Regions from separate parts of the Homo sapiens genome. Here region 1 is linked to region 2. Evidence: promoter capture Hi-C in human tissues and cell types (Jung and others, 2019). All regions are on one chromosome and are shown on one strand. The core of a region is centred on a gene start or on the middle of the fragment in contact, and the rest is flanking DNA. Distances in the headings are between cores, read along the strand shown. Region 1 has its middle 16 kb from the start of OR7C2. Region 2 holds the start of OR1I1 (olfactory receptor family 1 subfamily I member 1).

The links. The method cuts DNA at HindIII sites, captures the fragments that hold promoters and counts their contacts. A contact is called where the count stands out against the background at its distance.
Region 1: a fragment that was not itself captured here is called in contact with the fragment with the promoter of OR1I1 in region 2 in 4 of the 25 tissues and cell types used here (bladder, liver, lymphoblastoid cells and 1 more).

The regions. Positions count from the first base shown.
Region 1 is chr19:14,924,410-14,927,109 of GRCh38, reverse strand. No RefSeq gene overlaps it. Among named protein-coding and RNA genes, the nearest start is that of OR7C2, 16 kb to the left of the region's middle. The HindIII fragment of the contact is 7,045 bases long and covers 1-2,700 here.
Region 2 is chr19:15,080,812-15,083,511 of GRCh38, reverse strand. OR1I1 (olfactory receptor family 1 subfamily I member 1) reads right to left here and starts at 1,301. Exons shown (of 2, transcript NM_001004713.2): 1 at 1,236-1,301. The HindIII fragment of the contact is 16,029 bases long and covers 1-2,700 here.

The DNA.
Region 1 (2,700 bases), core at 78-2,577, 160 kb after region 2:
CTTCTGAAAATCCCAGAAGTCGAAATTCTGAAATTCGTGTATCATTCTCTGGTTCCATGTGGTAGAGGTGACTATAAAAAAAAAAAAAAGAGAGAGAGAGAAAATACATGACATAAGCATGCTTTTTTCACCCATCAGAAAAGCTATTATTTATATCCTACAGTCAGCAAGTTAATTTCTATATTTTGTGTGTGAATCTGGTCTACTTTATGAGATCTCCCATCCCATCTCTGCTTAGGAATTCCTTTCCCATGATGCTCAACTTTTCCCCAAATGGTCATTTATTTAAAAACTTTGCCGGGTGCGGTGGCTCACACCTGTAATCCCAGCACTTTGGGAGGCAGAGGTGGGCGGGTCACCTGAGGTCGGGAGTTCAAGACCAGCCTGACCAACATGGAGAAAACCCATCTCTACTAAAAATACAAAGTTAGCCGGATGTGGTGGTGCGTGCCCGTAATCCCAGCTACTCGGGAGGTTGAGGCAGGAGAATCATTTGAACCTGAGAGGCAGAGGTTGCAGGGAGCCAAGATGGCGCCATTGCACTCCATCCAGCCTGGGCTACAAGAGCAAAACTCCATCTCAAACAAAACAAAACAAAACAAAACAAAAACCAATACTTTAATGATAAATTCTTTCATGGATTTGAGGAATTTAAATTGAGTGTTGTCAACGTTCCAGGCTCTGTCTAGACAATGAGTGAACAGTGCTGAAAAACAAAAGTTCCTACAGTGAAGTATGGAGAAGAATACAAGTAAATCATATACTGTGTCAGATGGTAACCAGGGCTAGCAAGAAAAAGAAAGAAGGTAAAAAGGCGAGGGTGGATAGAGGATGTTAATTTTCCTAGGTGTCCAGAGAATACTAGCAGTCAAGGTGATAGGTGCCCATCAATAGTGGATTGGACAAAGAAACTGTGGTACTTATACACCATGGAATACTAGGCAGCCATAAAAAAGAATGAAATCATGTCCTTTCCAGCTACATGGATGAAGCTAGAGGCCGTTATTCTGAGCGACCTAATGCAAGAACAGAAAACCAAATATCGCATGTTCTCACTTATAAATGGTAGCTAAACATCGAATATACGTGAACACAAAGATGGGAACAATTGACACTGGAGACCGCTGGACAGAGGATGGAGGGAGGGGGATGTGAGCTGAAGAACCATCTGTTGGGTCCTATGCTTACCTCCTGAGTGATGGGATTGTTAGGACCCGAAGCCTCAGCATCACACAATTTACCCGTGTAACAAACCTGCACATGTACCCTTTAATCTGTAAGAAAAGCTGAAATTTTTAAAAAGAGAAATGAGACCTCAAGGAAGACAGGGCGGGAGCCATGAGGATATCTGGGAATGTGTGTGCCCAGCAGAAAGAATGGCCGGTGCAAAGGTGTAGAGGAAGGTTTCAGATGTTCAAGGCCAACGAGGAAGCCAGTGTGGCAGGGAAATCTGTGAGAGGTAAGTGATGGGAGATGGTGTCAGAAGATGTTGCACTATGAGGTGACTTCATTGCTGCTGAAGCTTCAAAATACAAGAAGTCCCTCTGCCCAGATTTTGTTTGGTTTGGTTTGGTTTTGAGACAGAGTCTCACTCTGTCGGCCAGGCTGGAGTGCAGTGGCATGATGTGGGTTCACTGCAACCTCCACCTCCTGGGTTCAAGAGATTCTCCTGCCTCAGCCTCCCAAGTAGCTGAGACTACAGGTGCCTGCTACCATGCCCTGCTAAGATTTATATTTTTTGGTAGAGATGGGGCTTCACCATGTTGGCCAGGCTGGTCTCAAACTCCTGACCTCAAGTGATCCTTTTGTCTCGGCCTCCCAAAGTGCTGGGATTACAGGCGTGAGCCACCACGCCCAGGCTTGTCCTGATGTTTTCTATTTGCACTTTAATAAATTGGCTCCATGTCCCATGAATTGAAATGCATCCTTTGTTTATTTCCATATGCTGCCTTGCGTGCTGACCTCTGTATTCTGAGTCACCTTTTGGAATATATTGAGTCCAGGTCCCTTTACTTTTTTTTTTTTTTTTTTTTTTTTTGAGACGGAGTCTCGCTCTGTTGCCCAGGCTGGAGTTCAGTGGCGCGATCTCGGCTCACTGCAACTTCCGCCTCCCAGGTTCACACCATTCTCCTGACTCAGCCTCCCAAGTAGCTGGGACTACAGGCGCCCGCCACCACGCCCGGCTAATTTTTTTGCATTTTTAGTAGAGGCAGGGTTTCACCATGTTAGCCGGGATGGTCTCGATCTCCTGACCTCGTGATCTGCCTGCCTCGGCCTCCCAAAGTACTGGGACTACAGGCGTGAGCCACTGCGTCCCTCTACTCTTAAAAGGGATATCTCTACCTCATTTGTATGTCATATTCTTTTATGCCTAGGTCTTTGCAACTTTAATTATTTATCCATGTTGAAAACATTAAATTATTGCTACTTCATATCTTGTTTCAGTTAATTAGCAAGGCTCCTTTCAATTCTGTTTAATGATGTTATTTTGAAATCACTCTCCCCACTAAAGACAGACACACATATGCACAATTAGTACAGACACACACACAGGCACACACTTGAAGCTGAATGAGGACTCCTGGGACTGTGTTTATAGCAAGCTGTTCTCACCTCCAGTCACACCATTAATATTAGAGAGGAATGGAAATGAAGCAAGCTTTCAATATCAGATTATCTTTCCATTTTTTTGTATGGTCA
Region 2 (2,700 bases), core at 52-2,551:
CTGGCAACATATTTGTAACAGTCCTCAGTTGTTGACTTGGGTTGCATAGAGCAGCGGTTCTCAACCTTGAGCACGCTTCAGGGTCACCTGGAAGGCTTGTTAAAACACAAAAAGCGGGCCAGGCATGGTGGCTCACACCTGTAATCCCAGCACTTTGGGAGGCTGAAGTGGGAGAATTGCTTGAGGCCAGGAGTTCAAGACCAGCCTGGCAGACAAAGTGAGGCCACCCCACCCCCAATCCCGCCCTGGATCTACAAAAAATAAAACAATCTGCTGGGCATGGTGGCATGCTTCCATAGTCCCAGCTACTCAGAAGGCTGAGGTGGGAGAATCCCTTGAGTCCAGGAGTTAGAGACCAACCTGGGCAACACAGTGAGACCCCCATCTCTACAAAATAAAAAATTAGCTGGACATGGTGGCACACACCTGTTAGTCCCAGCTGCTTGGGGGGCCAAGGTAGGAGGATCTCTTGAGCCCGGGAGTGTGAGACCATCCTGGGCAACATAGGAAGATCCCTGCCTCTACGAAAATAAAATTAGCCAGGCATGGTGGTATATGTCTGTTATCCCAGGTACCCGGGAGGCTGAGGAGGGAGGATCACTTGAGCTTGGGAGGTCGAGGCTGCGATGAGCTATGATAATGCCACTGCACTCCAGACTGGGCAACAGAGCGAGACCCTGTCTCAAAAACAGAAAGAACAAACAAACAAACAAAACAATCCCCCCGCCCCCTCCCCCCCGCTCCCAAACTCATCATACACAAAAAGCTAAGCCCTTTCCCTGAAATGTCTGGTGTAAGAACCAGCACTTCTAGATAGTTTCCAGAGGATGCTGGTGCTTCTAGCCCAGGGACCACACTTGGGGAGCTGCTGCATTGGAGAAACTTGTTTCTCAAGACCTCTCCTATCTGTGCAGGTGTCCTGCAGCTGCAGACCCTCAGTGCTTTTCCTCCACATATCCTGCCACAGAGGGTCTGCCGTCTGCGTGCTTTGTCCACTCAGAGAGTCTAGACTTGGTCTCAGTCTCTTCTCTCTCTCTCGGCCTCTAGGAAGGAGACAGATTCCTCTCCCACAACCCTCCACCCCCACCCTCAGCTCAATCCTTTCCCCATCCCTCACCTGCTCACCAGGATGGCATCACCAAGGGGAGGGTCCCGGGAAGCCTCCTTCTCCACCAACTGCTAGAGGATCCCGAGGTCAGCACTAAACCCCTAGGAAGGGCATGGGGGCTACTCACCTGTGATCGCTGGGGTTAGCCTGATGTCTATGGGAAGGATTCATATGTGTACCCCCCCGCCCCCAGACTCTGCAGGTGAGTGGGGGAGCCAGGGGAACATCAGGGTATTTATAGTCTGGGGACTCTAGGAGACTTCGTCCCCATAGCTCCTTGTTAAGGAAGCGGATGCTAATTATTTTGTTTCTCCTCTGCCACATGTGACCTGTTCTTTTGGAGATGGGTGTGCTTTGGGATCATCGAGTGGGTAAGAAGAGGAAACAGTGACTAGGGATTCACTCTCACTAGGACATCTCCCTACGGTCTCCTTCCAGCTCAGGCTGAGCTTCATGGAAGCTCCCAGGCAGAGAGGTCTGGGGGGTCCCAGACTCCAGTCGGGCACTCAGATGCCTGAATCTGAGAGGTCCTTTCATTCATTGCATTATGGAAGAAACTGGCTCATTAAGGAAAGCTCCGAAGAGTATCAATCAATCAATAAATCGGTATTAAATAAATAAATTTATCAAACACTTTTTTTTGAGATGGAGTGTCACTCTTTCACCCAGCCTGGAGCACAGTGGAGCAATCTCGGCTCACTGCAACCTCCACCTCCTGGGTTCTAGCAATTCTCCCTCCTCAGCCTCTTGAGTAGCTGGAATTACTGGTGCCCACCACCATGCCCAGCTAGTCTTTGTATTTTTAGTAGAGACAGGGTTTCACCATGTTGGAAAGACTGATCTCAAACCTCAAGTGATCTGCTCTCCTCGGTCTCCCAAAGTGCTGGGATTACAGGCCTGAGCCACTGTACCCGGCCTATCAAACACTTCTTGATCACCTGCTTGGCACTGGAGTTGGACACGGTGGCTCATGCCTATAATCCTAGCTACTTGGGAGGCCAAGGTTGGAGAATCCCTTGAGCCTAGAAGTTTGAGACCAGCTTGGGCAAAACAGCAAGACCTTATATCTACAAAAAATTTAAAAAAATTAGCCAGGATTGGTGGCACATGCCCGTGGTCTCAGTTACCCAGGAGGCTGAGGTGGGAGGATCACTTGAGCCCTGGAGGTTGAGGCTGCAGTGAGCTGTGATCGCACCACTGCATTCCAACCTGGACAACGGAGTGAGACCCTGTCTCTTAAAAAAAAAATCCTTCCTATCAGCCACACAGAACGTGTGTAGGATACTTGTTGAAATTCTCCTAGGGGCTTTAGTAAATATTAGAATTACTTTCCCTAATAATATTGGCTGTTGGACTGTTGGCTCTTGGATCGTAACTCTGTGGGGAGGTCAGCTTCAAAGCAAGAACAAGGTAGACCAACTTCGCGTTGGACATATGGGGATATGAGTAGGTGCCAATCCCACTGTCATTATTTTTTTAAAATTAAAATTATTTTCAGAGGCTGGGCATGGTGGTTCACACCTGTAATCCTAGCACTTTGGGAGGCCGAGGCAGGTGGATCAATTTAGCTCAGGAGTTTGAGACCAGCCCGG